Regions from separate parts of the Homo sapiens genome. Here region 2 is linked to region 1. Evidence: promoter capture Hi-C in human tissues and cell types (Jung and others, 2019). All regions are on one chromosome and are shown on one strand. The core of a region is centred on a gene start or on the middle of the fragment in contact, and the rest is flanking DNA. Distances in the headings are between cores, read along the strand shown.

Evidence for each region. The method cuts DNA at HindIII sites, captures the fragments that hold promoters and counts their contacts. A contact is called where the count stands out against the background at its distance.
Region 2: a contact is called between a fragment that was not itself captured here and the fragment with the promoter of RNF185 in region 1, in 1 of the 25 tissues and cell types used here (spleen).

The regions. Positions count from the first base shown.
Region 1 is chr22:31,157,377-31,163,977 of GRCh38, reverse strand. RNF185 (ring finger protein 185) reads right to left here and starts at 3,796. Exons shown (of 7, transcript NM_152267.4): 1 at 3,675-3,796. MIR3928 (microRNA 3928) reads left to right here and starts at 3,859; the gene lies at 3,859-3,916. The HindIII fragment of the contact is 14,525 bases long and covers 1-6,601 here.
Region 2 is chr22:30,619,607-30,627,014 of GRCh38, reverse strand. It overlaps TCN2 (transcobalamin 2), which reads right to left. Exons shown (of 9, transcript NM_000355.4): 8 at 3,932-4,047; 9 at 1-555. The coding sequence ends at 494. Among named protein-coding and RNA genes, the nearest start is that of SLC35E4, 12 kb to the left of the region's middle. The HindIII fragment of the contact is 9,250 bases long and covers 684-7,408 here.

The DNA.
Region 1 (6,601 bases), core at 2,547-5,046:
AAGGGGCCAGGCACGGTGGCTCAAGCCTGTAATCCCAGCACTTTGGGAAGCTGAGGTGGGTGGATCACTTGAGGTCAGGAGATTGAGACCATCCTGGCCAACATGGTGAAACCCCGTCTCCACTAAAAATACAAAAATTAGCCAGGCAAGGTGGCGTGCACCTGTAGTCCCAGCTACTCAGAAGGCTGAGGCAGGAGAATTGCTTGAGCCCGGGAGGTGGAGGTTACAGTGAGCCGAGATTGCGCCACTGCACTCCAGCCTGGAGGACAGAGTGAGACTCCGTTTCAAATAAATAAATAAATAAATAAATAAATAAATAAAATAAAATAAAAAGTTAAAAAACAATACATGGCTGGGAGTGGTGGCTCATACCTGTAATCCTAGCACTTTGAGAGGCTGAGGCAGGAGAATCATTTGAGCTCGGAGATTTGAGACCAGCCTGGGCAACATAGTGAGACCTCATCTCTACAAGAAACCTAAAAGTTAGCTGGGTGTGGTGGTGTGTGCCCGTAGTCCCAACTACTCGGGTGGCTGAGGTGGGAAGATGGCTTCAGCCCAGGAGGTCAAGGCTGTAGTAGGCTATGTTCGTGCCACTGCACTCCAGCCTGGGCAACAGAGCGAGTCACTGTCTCAAAAAAAAAAAATGTACACGATGCAGGTCAGGAATTGGCAATTTTTTTTCCATAAAGGGCCATAGAGTAAATACTTCAGACTCTGTGGACCATATGGTTTTTATGGGAAGTAATCAACTCCACTGAGTAGCATTAAAGCACCCAAAGACAATATGTAAATATATATGAATATAAATAAATGGGTGTGACTGAAATGAACACTGAAATTTTATCTTCCTGTAATTGTCACCTATGTAATATTATTCTTCTTTTATTTCCCATCATTTAAAAATGTAAAAAGCAGGCCAGACGTGGTGGCTCACGCCTGTAATCCCAGCACCTTGGGAGGCTGAGGCGGGCAGATCACGAGGTCAGGAGATCAAGACCATCCTGGCTAACACAGTGAAACCCTACCTCTACTAAAAATACAAAAAATTAGCCAGTCATCGGGGTGGGCGCCTGTAGTCCCAGCTATTCGGGAGGCTGAGGCAGGAGAATGGCATGAACCCAGGAGGCGGAGCTTGCAGTGAGCTGAGATGGAGCCACTGCATTCCAGCCTGGGCAACAGAGCGAGACTCCGTCTTAAAAAAAAAAAAAAAAGAAAGAAAAATGTAAAAAGCACCCTTAGCTCACAGACCATATAAACAAGCAGTAGGTCCAGGTTTGGTTCACAGCCTATATATAGTATGCAGATCCCCACTCTAGGTCAGAATTTGCTAACGTGTGCTTCAATTAAAAAAAAAAAAAAGATTTGACATCAAGTAGATTAAACAAATGGAACAAGTTATTATCTTGGCTTATAAGGCACATTTCCTTATTGCAGGACCTCTCAGTGGTTTTAATGTGGTATTACACATTGAGAAGCTCCAAGAAAGAATAATGGTATGTGGCTTTCTCAAACTTATTATTAGCATCAAATCCTTTTTTCAGAGCCACTTCTTCAGACCAGTGGCCTGAAGAACATACTTATGAGAATGTCAATTCAGACACTTCTTTAAAAGGAAACTTTTAGATCGAGAAGTTCTAAAAACTCCAACAAATTAAGATCATTTTACCCAGTACCTGGATAACATCTGAATAAGCATTTCACAACTTTTTTATTTTTTAATCTTGGGAAACACAAGTCGATAACTGGCAGGAAGTTTTGGCTCAACCCTAACTTTTGTGGCGGCGGGGGAGCAAGTCAGCAGAACTGGGTCATAATATGGAGCCTCTGCTCCCTAAGACAACATAAACATTCCTAAGCATTCTAGCAGGTGTTGAAAAAGTGATTTAGGCAGAGCTTTGTAATGCACAAAATAAGGACATAATAATGTTTGATTAGAAAACCAAAGGTATGCTAGAGGCCAGGCACAGTGGCTTACACCTGAAATCCCAGCACTTTGGGAGGCTGAGGCAGGCGGATCACTTGAGGTCAGGAGTTCGAGACCAGCCTGGCCAACATGGTGAAACCCCATCTCTACTAAATACTCAAAAAAAAAAAAAAAAAAGCTGGAACTTGTCATGTGTGTGAACTGGCAAGTCAAGTCTATAAGAGGACTGTTTTTATATGATGCATGGAAAGCTAGCCAACAGACTGCAAAAATTCTCTCACATCTATACACATATTGCTGAAGAGAGGATTCAAGCAGGGATTATGTTCCAGGGAAGAGAAGGCTGGTCTGAACAACCTCAAGGGGTGCTTTCAACTGAGAGTCCTCAATTTTGTGATTCAGAGTTCACTGGCTTCTCCTGGTCAAACATAAAATCTTCAGAGGCATTTCCAACTTGTTCTTAGAAAAAAGCTACTAACCCATGGGGTGGGACCCAGTTTACTTATTCATTCAATAAACATTTAAGGTGCCTCTATCAGATATTGGGTCATTCCAAAGTCCTTGAAAAGAAGGATGGTGCACAGGACAACCAGGAAGAGATTATGTAAGGTCAGATGCATTGGCCTTATTTACAGGAGATGTAGGCTAAAGTGATGGAAGTGTCAAAAGAGAAGAAAAAAGTCACATTTGCCTTGAGAGCAGAGTCAGCACCAGAAAGATGCAGAACAACTCCTTGGAATCACAGACTTTCAAGTTGGAAAGGACCTTCATCTAATACCTATATACCTCCCTCGAAAGGAGGCACGGAGGCAATCCATTCACTCCATCGGTGGTCACCTCTGACGATTCTTCCATTTAAGTTCTTCTATTAAGCAAAAATCTTGCCTTCCTGTAGAATTCACCTGTTAGTCCTAGTTCTGCCTCTTTTAGCCTAAAGATGAAGTGGAAGCCCTCTTTGCCGTAACAGTATTTTCAATTTTTAAAAAGTTAATTCCCTTCCAGTGCTCTCTTTACTGAGCTAACCATTCCAGTTCTTTCAAAGTTCCTGAACTGGCACCAGCTGCCTCAAAGCGAAGAATGGATATCTAGTGCTCACAGCAGGAAAGCACTTAAAATCAATGAGCTTCAAACATTAGTATATACAGGACCCCCCTACGCATAAGTTCAGATTCTAAACCAGAAGTCTGAATTGAGTCCCGCGCTGTAAAGCCGGCATCTCAGAGAATTACAAAGCAGATGGTGTAAGAACCATATTTTGAAAAACACTGCCCCGTTTTAGAGACGAGAAAACTGAGGCCCAGCACAGGGAAGAGATTTGGCCCAGAACGCACAATTGTCTGTCGGTGGCGAAGTCTCGAATCCAGGTCTCTTACTTTCAGCCCAACTCTGTTCACCGCGCTCCCCGGCCTCTGCTTCTCCACTCAGGGCAAACTCGTGAAATGCACTCCCAGATGATAGAGGCGGTCTCGCACGGGGGATAGAATGGGAATCAGTGCCCATGCCTCGAAAGGAGAGCTTGTGGGAGCCCTTCTCTTTCGCAAGGCCTCAGTTTCCCCAATCTGTATTCATGGGACGCAGAACCACAACGCCAGCTCGTCCTCTTTTCGGGGACAGACACGACCGGTCTTGCTGTCTCTGGGCCCCTGGGCTCAGATGTTCAAGCCCGTGTGTCCTGGGAAGGCGGACCCGGGTCTCCCGCCCCCGTCCCTAAACTTTGGCGCCCCCGCCCCAACCCCAGCCCCTCACATACCTGCCTCCGCACAGTTAACGCCAGCCCAGTCAATCAGTTTTTCGGGTACACGGCCAATACTAACGCCGCGTCAATCTGTTGGGTAAGACCTCCGACCCCTCCTACGCGGACTCCAGTCACATGACGCGGAGCCGCCCCTCTCGGAGGGACTTCCGGCCCCAACCGGAAGAGGTTAATTTCCATGGCTGAAGCTCTAAGGTTCCGCCTGCGGGCAGGAAGCGGAGGAACCTTGGAGCTTCGGCAGCTTTTCAAAGAGCTTTGGGTTCGGGGCTCCTAAAAGAAAAAAACTGATTCCGGCCGGGCGCGGTGGCTCCCACCTGTAATTCCAGCAGTTTGGGAGGCCGCGGCGGATGGATCACTTGAGGTCAGGAGTTCGAGACCAGCCTGGCCAAAATGGTGAAACCCCTCTGTACTCAAAATACAAAAAGTAGCCGGTCGTGGTGGCGCACACCTGTAATCCCAGCTACTCGGGAGGCTGAGGCAGGATAATCGCTTGAACCCGGGAGGCGGAGGTTGCAGTGAGCTGAGATCGCACCACTGCACTCTAGCCTGGGCGTCAGAGTGAGACTCCGTCAAAAAAAAAAAAAAAAAAGAGAGAGAGAAAGAACTAACTCATTCCGGAAAGTACCAGATAAACTTGGAACATCTTGTTACACCAGAATATAAGGATGATGGTAATAAGAATCATGGGAATGTGTCAAAGAACACAGGAGCTGTCTTTAAGGAGATCTTACTGGCCAAGTCAGGGCAATTTCAGAATCAAAATATGGAGTGATAGTAATAGAGTATAACTAATTGAATAAAATAGTAATCCATGAGTCTTTACAAACATAAAGAAGTGAGCATATTAATGGGTGAAGGGAAAGTCTTCCTTTTAGTAGAATGCTAGCTAATAAACATGGTGGAATTAGGAAATCAATAATGTGTGGTAAAACTAGAGAAACGGGATGTTTACAACAGCAAAAGTGTCTCCCATAAATTAGCTATTGATTACAAAGGGAAAATGGTGATGTTACAGAGGTTTAACCTAGCAGAACAAACAGATCAAAGTGATCAAAGTTAACACCACTAGTTAATGGGTCAGATCAAGGGCCTCCTAATAAAATGCACTGAGAACACATCTGTGGTATTTCTGTCAAAAGTGCACCGTACACATCTCATGAGGAAGTGCTAGAGAACCCCAAATGAAGGACACTGTCTACAAAATAACTCATTGTCATGAAAAACAGAGAAAAGCTGAGGAACTGTTCCAGTTTAAAGGAGACTAAAGAAGCATGACAACAAAATGTGGTGTGTGATTCTAAATAGGACCCTGGACTGGGGTAGTGGTGGTGGTGGAATAGTTGTAATGGACAATATTGGGACAAGTAATGAAATTTGAATATGGATTGTGGATTAGCTGTTAATACATATTGTATCAAATCACATACTGATAGGTGATGGAGCTTGTGATTTGCACTCAAGCAGTCATTGGAGTTCTTGACAGCCATCTTCATTCATTCAACAAGCATTTATTAAGTACCTACAGTTATCCCAGGAACGGTTAGGGATCGGACCTGAGTAGGAGGTGAACATAGTAGATAAAGGCCGGCGCGGTGGCTCACGCCTATAATACCAGCACTTTGGGAGGTCGAGGCAGGCAGATCACCTGAGGTTAGGAGTTCGAGACCAGCCTGGCCAACATGGTGAAACTCATCTCTACTAAAAATACAAAAATTAGCCAGGCGTGGTGGCGGGCACCTGTAATCCCGGCTACTTGGGAGGCTGAGGCTGGAGAATTGCCTGAACCCAGGAGACAGAGGTTATAGTGAGCCAAGATCGTGCCATTGCACTCCAGCCTGGGCGACAAGAGTGAAACTCCATCTCAGAAAAAAAAATAAAAAATAGTAGATGAAATAAGCTCATAGATGAAAGTCCTAGTCTGCCAGCCACCTTTGCAAGTTCCTGTGATCAAGAAGTAATACAAGGGATGTTTCCAGTCACACAAACCTGGATTTGAAACCAAGCGCTAAGAGAAAAACAGCCCCTGACATCCAGGAGATGGTCTGGCACTCACAAATAGACCTTGGTGTGTTCTCTTATTGAACATAAAAACTTCACAGAACATCAACATCAAACAAAGCCACTATGTGACCATGATGGATCAAGACAATAACAAAACCACTTGAATCATGTCTAAACCCAGACAAAACATGAGCATTGTTCGAACTACAAAAATGGCCAAACATTTCCCTATTCTGGCTTGTATAGAGATTATAGATTTAGCCTCGGTCTACTCTTCCCTCCTTCTAAATAATGTTTATCAAGGTACTCACTCATAGGCAGCATCCAATCCAGAAAACCCCATTTTCTTAAGCCCTCGTCCAAATCACCTAATGCAAGCCCAAATCCTATGTGTCCTTTGTAACACTTTGTTACTGAGATGCCCCTTTGTTTGTTTGTTTGTTTGTTTGTTTGTTTTTGAGACAGAGTATCACTCTATCACTCAGGCTGGAGTGCAGTGGTGTGATCTCGGCTCACTGCAGCCTCTGCCTCCTGGGTTCAAGTGATTCTTCTGCCTCAGCCTCCCAAGTAGCTGGGATTACAGGCGCCCACCATCACTCCCGGCTAATTTTTGTATTTTTAGTAGGGACAGGGTTTCACCATGTTGGCCAGGCTGGTCTCGAACTCCTGACCTAAGGTGTTCCTCCCACCTTGGGCTTCTACAGTGCTGGGATTACAGATGTGAACCACCAAGCCCAGCTGCCCTATTGTTTCTCATGATTCATGTCCTCTCACCCTTACCCCATAACAAGTGATAAACTCAACTTGTTTAACCACAGGTGTGTTCCAATTTCTTCCTTCCTCAAAAAGTTGTTATGAGGATACTCGGAACAGGTTCATCACAGAGTGAGCTTTCTCTATCAATCGATCCATTATCTATTTTT
Region 2 (7,408 bases), core at 4,059-6,558, 540 kb after region 1:
CTGAGCAGCCCTGCTGAGGTCTCCCCAGCTACTGTGCCACAACCAGCTCGGAGCTGCCACTCTAACAGCAGAGTGGAGAGCTGGGGTCAGGGCCATAGCCCCCGGGCTGAGGAGGCCTTCTTGCAGGACCCCAACCACAGAACGAGTGGTCTTCACAACACCTGCGGCCTGCGGACTCCGTTTTTTGCCAAGGAGTCTGAGATGCTTCATGCCCATCAGACCATGGGGTGGCCTTCATGGGAGACCTGCAGGGCCAGGCTGGCCAGACTTGGCCAGAAAGACTTCCCAGGGAAGATGCTTGGCTCTCTGCTCCAAGGTGGGCCATGGTATAGGGCCCTCGAAGGGCTTGTGGCTGGGGTGATCCCAGGGGGCATTGCTCAAAGTGCACAGGAGGTGGCAGCAGGGTCAGGCGAGTTCCTGTTCCAGGGACATCAGGAGGGAGGGTAGAAGCCTAGGGAGTGTGCGAGGCTGCTGGGATGAGGGAGCTCAGGGGCTACCAGCTAACCAGCCTCAGCTCAATGGTTTCTCCATCCTTGGGTCTGTAGTCAGCAATACCTGCAGAAACAGATTGAGCAAGGAGGGGCGAATTGGGCAGAATATCGCACCCCGCAACCTCATCTTCCAGACCCCCCACCCTGAGGCTAGAGTCTGTAAGAATCCACCTGGGGCTTGGTGGTGGGAAGCTGGAACCTCCCTAAAGCCTGCTCAAAGACTCTGAACTCAGCTTCCCACAGGGTTCCTGAGGCCATGACCTCATCTGGTAATAAAAACACCTGACAGGCAGGGCCACTGTCTTTGTAATACCCTAGGGACCATCAGGAAGAGAAACTTGCGCAGTGCAGTCTGGAGAGAGAACCAGGACCACGCAGAAGTCTCCCAGGAGTCAGCTTTCACTCACTACACAGAATCCAGGCTCTAGGAGGACGCCTGGATTCAAGCCCCAGCTCTGTCATTCATTACTGCTGTGACTCTGGACAAGTTATTTAACCTCTGAGTGAGTGTCGCTGCTCTTGTTGGTGATGTGGGAATGCAGCCTGCAGGGGAACTGAAAGGGCCCTTTGAGATAGCCAGGTGTCAGAAATGTTTCCTTTCAATGGAGGTGCTATGGTCTAAAATGTCTGTGTCCCCCCAAAATGTATATGTTAAAACCTAACCCCAAAGGTGATGGTATCAGGAGGCCTTAGGGCCTTTGGGAGATGATTAGGTCATGAGAGTAGAGCCTCATCAATGGGATAGGAAAGTGCCATTATAGGCCGAGCAGGGTGGCTCATACCTAGAATCCCAGCACTTTGGGAGGCCAAGGCAGGCAGATCACTTGAGTTCAGAAGTTCGAGACCAGCCTATGCAACATGGTGAAACCACATTTCTACTAAAAATACAAAAAATTAGCTGGGCTTTGTGCCATGGGCCTATGGTCACACGTACTCAGGAGGCTGAGGTGGGAGGATCGCTTAAGCCAGGGAGGCAGAGGTTGCAGTGAGCTGAGATTGTGATACTGCACTCAGCGTGGGTGACAGAGTGAGACCCCCATCTCAAAAAAAAAAATTTTTAAGTACCATTATAAAAGAGGTTCCTTCAGCAGGCAAGGGCCAGGAAAATATTTTTTTTTTTTAAATTAAAAAACAAGGCCCCAGAAAGTTGCCATGTTCCTTCCACCATGTGAGAACACAGCCAGCAGGTAACACCAGAAAGTGGGCCCCCATCAGACACTGAATCTGTCAGTGTCCTGATCTGGGACTGCCCACCCAACCTCCAGAACTGTTAAGAAATACATTTCTGTTATTTTATTTCATTTTGAGATGGAGTTTCACTCTTGTTGCCCAGGCTGAAATGCAATGGCGTGATCTCAGCTCACGGCAACCTCCGCCTCCTGGGTTCAAGCGATTCTCCTGCCTCAGCCTCCTGAGTAGCTGGGATTACAGGTGCCCGCCACCACCCCCAGCTAATTTTTTGTATTTTTAGTAGAGACAGGGTTTCACCATGTTGGTCAGGCTAGTCTTGAACTACTGATCTCAGGTGATCCACCTGCCTTGGCCTCCCAAAGTGCTGGAATTATAGGCATGAGCCACCGCACCCGGCCTCATTTCTGCTGTTTATAAGCCACCCAGTTTATGGTATTTTGTAATAGCAGCTTCAATGGACTAAGACAAAAGAGAACTCAAATTATAACTCCCATCCACTTTCCACCCCAAGGAAGATAGAGGAGTGATTTATGCAACTGGTTGATTTGGGAAGAATAAACTAGGCATGTGTAGCCTGGGCGCTATTTTTCTCCTGGGAGCGGGCTTCCTTCTAGACTCAAGGGCAGAGGGGGAAGGAGATAGAGGCTACAACTGCCCAGGTCTGCTTCCTGGCTGGGTCCACCTAGCTCTCACCCTCCTGTCTTTATCAGTAATAGAACTGGCCAGACTTGGGGTCTCCATCTGTAGCTCCTATTTTTTATTCCTCAATTTATTCAGAATGAGGGCAAGAAAAGAATGCTTTTTTGTGGGCTCCCTCAGAAAGTCCCACCTTCTCTATAAGCACTCGCCACAATGCTTGACACATGGTAAGTGCCCCATAAAAGTTCTTCAGGGGTGGAGTATCAAAGCAACTTAAATAACAAGAGTAGGAACAGATGACTTTTAAGGGTCTGTTTGCAGGCCAGGCGTGGTGGCTCACGCCTGTAATCCCAGCACTTTGGGAGGCTGAGGCAGGCAGATCACTTGAGGTCAGGAGTTTGAGACCAGCCTGGCCAACATGGTGAAACCCCGTCTCTACTAAAAATACAAAAATAACTGGGCATGGTGGCACACACCTGTAATCCCAGCTACTTGGGAGGCTGAGGCAGGAGAATTGCTTGAGCTCAGAAGGCAGAGGCTGCAGTGAGCTGAGACCTCGCCATTGTACTCCGGCCTGGGCAACAGAGCAAGACTCCATCTCAAAAAAAAAAAATATATATATATATATATATGTGTGTGTGTGTGTGTGTATATATGTATACATATATATGTGTGTATATATGTATACATATATATGTGTGTATATATGTATACATATATATGTGTGTGTATATATGTATACATATGTGTGTGTGTATATATGTATACATATATATGTGTGTATATATATGTATACATATATATGTGTGTATATATGTGTGTATATATGTGTGTATGTATGTGTATGTATGTGTGTGTATATGTGTGTGTATGTGTGTGTATATATGTGTATGTGTGTATATATGTATACATATATATGTGTGTATATATATATACATATATATGTGTGTATATATATGTATACATATATATGTGTGTCTGTATATATATATATTTCATATATATGTATACACATATATGAAATTTTTAAGTTATACATGTGGGCAACATTAAATTTCCACTGGATAGCATGGCTCCATTTTTTATGAAAAACTTACTGCCATATTTTTAAAAAGTATCTAGAAGAAAAGTTAAGTAATTTTGGCTGGGTGCGGTGGCTCATGCCTGTAATCCCAGAACTTTGGGAGGCAGAGGCAGGCAGACCACTTGGGCTCTAGGAAGGCTGAGGTGGAAGAATCACATGAACCCAGGAGGCGGAGGTTGCAGCGAGCCGAGATCATACCGCTGCACTCCAGCCTGGGCAACAAGAGCGAAACTCCATCTCAAAATAAAAGACGTTATTCCTAGGTAGTATATCCTAGGTGATGTTAATTTTCTTCTAGTTTTTTTTTTTTTTTGTAATCTGTCTGGTTTCCTAGAATTTCCACAGTAACTTGCATAAAAATTCTAAGGCTTCAGTTCAATATATTATATCCAACTTTGAGCATCAGTGATTTTGTGAAGGTGTGGCCCAGGAGGGTGCTAGGGAAAGCTGGGGTGAGTTGATGAAGCCTCTTGGCTGAGTAAGCTTGGGGTAGGGGACACATCCAGAGTGTCAGGCCATGACTCACCTTGCAACAGTGGGGTGTTGGGGTCTCGGAGAAGCTGCCAGAACTCCCTTTCTCCGGCCGCTTTCCCCATCACGGAGGTTAAGTAGGGGCCTGACAAGGAGGCCTGTGTTTCATATCTACAGAAGGGAAAGGCAAATGGGGAGAGAAGAGGTGGCTGTTGTCCCTAAGGGGAGAGGCAGTGCTCACCCACAGCAGCAAAATCCCTTCCAAGCTCTTTGGGCCGACACTCGTCAAACCCTTCCCAGGCCACCTGGCCACAGGTCTGTGATCTCAACTTCCACCTCCTTCCCCTCCAGACCCCCGATCCTGCCTGCTCAGGCTTCATCCTCTCCACGCTGACCATGACCATGGCCTCCAGGAAAGGGGCATCTATTATGTTATCAGCTCAGCAGTTGTCCCCTCTCTGGGGGGCTGATGTTATGGGGGATGAGAATCAGAAGCTGCTGGTGTCACCTAGAATGTGTACAATGTACAACGAGAGAGGGTGAAGCCTGCATACAGAGACAGGCAGGGTCATGGGAAGTGGAGGCAGAGACACCTGGCAGTGGCACTGGGTCTCTGTGGCTCAGTGGCATTCCCCTCTTCTCGGGGCTGCATGGCTCAGCCTCCTCTCTGATTCTACATGCTCTACACCCGCTGTTGTGGAGAGGCTTGGAGTTCGGTTTCTGGCCCTGGCAGCCAAGAGACTCCTCAACTCACACTCCCCCTTCCCTGAGCTTCTGGCCTTCAACTTTGAGTTTCTGCACTCCGTCTGGATGCCACTGCCACAGGAAGCCTCTTAAAACTCCGTGGGCCTGGGCCAGGCACAGTGGCTCAACCCTGTAATCCCAGTACTTTGGGAGGCCAAGGCAGGCAGATCACCTGAGGTTGGGAGTTCGAGACCAGCCTGACCAACATGAAGAAACCCCATCTCTACTAAAAACACAAAATTAGCCAGGTGTGGTGGTTCATGCCAGTAATCCCAGCTACTGGGGAGGCTAAGGCAGGAGAACCGCTTGAACCCGGGACGTAGAGGTTGCAGTGAGCTGAGATCGTACCATTGTACCCCAGCCTGGGCAACATGAGCAAAACTCCATCTCAAAACAAAACAAAACAAACTCCGTGGGCCACGTCCTTCATCCCTCCCACAGGAGAAAGCAGCATGATCAGGGCTTCCCCTGGAAGAAGGGCTTCAAGAGATGAGTGGGATTTGCCAGAGGAGAAGGGAGGAGAGCGGGGCAGAGCTGAGAGGAGGCAGAGAGAAGAAAGGCACACAGGTGCACAGAATTTGGGGGAATGGTCTTTCAAAAGAGCAGGGTCAGGCCAGGCACTGTGGCTCATGCTTGTAATCCCAGCACTTTGGGAGGCCAAAGCGGGTGGATCACTTGAGGTCAGGAGTTCATGACCAGCCTGGACAACATGGTGAAACCCCATCTCTACTAATAATACAAAAATTAGGCTGGGCATGGTGGTGCACACCTGTAATCCCAGCTATTCAGGAGACTGAGGCAGGAGAATCACTTGAACCTAGTAGGCGGAGGTTGCAGTGACCTGAGGTCGCACCACTGCACTCCAGCCTGGGTAACAGAGCAAGACTGCTTCTCAAAAACAAAACCAAGCAAACAAACAAAAAACAACAAATGAGCAGGTTCTGGGAGAATGCAAATGACTGAAAAGGAGGTGAGACCGTCAAAGTAACAGGGAAGTGATGTGAACAAACGCATCTTCTACAAAGTGCTCTCTGGGGTAATACAGCCCTAAGTTATCGATGGTTGCAGTCTTAGAGGGATTTTTTTGGTTTTAAGAAACACAGGTGGGGCGCGGTGGGTCACATCTGTAATCCCAGCACTTGAGGAGGCGGAGGTGGGTGGATCACCTGAGGTTGGGAGTTTGACACCAGCCTGGCTCACATGGTGAAACCCTATTTCTACTAAAAATACAAAAACTAGCCAGGTGTGATGGTGGGCCCCTGTAATCCCAGCTGCTCAGGAGGCTGAGGCAGGAGAATCGCTTGAACCCAGGAGGTGGAGGTTGCAGTGAGCCGAGATCGTGCCACTGCACTCCAGCCTGGGCGACTGAATGCAACTCCGTCTCAAAACAACAACAACAACCACCACCCTATTTGGGGTGACTTTAGCGAAGGGAAACTACTGTTCTAAGGAATGTCACAGAGTAGCCCTTTTCCCATTCCTTAACTCTGCAGGGCCATGTGGCTGCACAGGGCTACCTCTCTCCACATCTGTCTATCTGTGTCTGCAGTTGAGCTTTCTCTGCTGTGCATTCAGGGGCCTCAAACATAGTCTTCATGCCTGAACCCAGTTGAGGCATCCATGCACACTAACAAGAGAACCATTTCTCAGACTGGAGTCCACAGTGTCTTCCCAGAGATCCCCGAGCTCTGAATAAAAACGTTAAATTCTAATTGTCTTTCATTTTGATGACAATATTCAAACATGAATACCAGCTGGTTCTGGGTAATCTCAGTCTGTGGGTCTGAGCCCTCCCAAGGGCACTCAGCCTATGCGTGGCCATCAGTGACTGCGCTGGTGCCCAGCAGCATTGCGTTATGTGCCATAGGCCACAGGAAGGAAACGGAGGTGGCCCTCATAGTGAATGAAGTGGCTGAGCCAGGCCAGGAGTGCCCAGGCTTCACTGCAGCTTGAATACAGGGAGGTGCTAAAGTGCAGGCCAGCACCTCCGCAGAGCATCCTTATTTGAATGGTATTGGTTTTTATACTTTTCTATTTAATTTATAAAGTTGTTGGGGATTTATAGCTGTCTAGAGCTAGAAAGAGAAAGGACTTTTTTTGTGTGTGGTAGAGACGGGCTTTCGCCACGTTGGCCCGGCTGGTTTTGAACTCCTGGCCTCAAGTAATCTGCCCACCTTGGCCTCCCAAAGTGCTGGGATTACAGGTGTTAGCCATCACACTCAGCCCTTTGTCTTTTAAAAAAAAAAAAAAAGTTTTGTCATCCAGGCTACAGGACAGTGACGTCATCATAGCTTGCTGCCGCCTTGAACTCCTGGGCTCAAGCAGTCCTCCCACCTCAGCCTTCTGGGTAGCTAGGATTATAGGTGCACACCATCATGCCCAGCTAATTAAAAAAATTTTTTTGAAGAGATGGCAGTCTCACTATGTTGCCCAGGCTGGTCTCAAACTCCTAGGCTCAAGTGATCCTCCTGCCTCAGCCTCCCAAATCACTGGAATTACAGGAGTGAGCCACCAGCTCTGGCCAAAGACTTTATATTTAATAAAATTATCAGTACACATCTAAGTGATATTATAGAAGAAATAACTTAACCTGGGGTCTGGGAGAATGTTTGTACTTCAGAGGAGTCTTTGCATTTCTCCGGTCTGAGATTCTCTAGCCTAGAGGACCCGAAGGAACCAACTGTGGGCCCTCCCTGGATGCAGGATGCTGTTTTCCAGGAACTCCCACTGGGGACAGAGATAGGCCCATGATTCTAGGGGAGAAGTCTGTGGTGTGCGTGACCTGGTG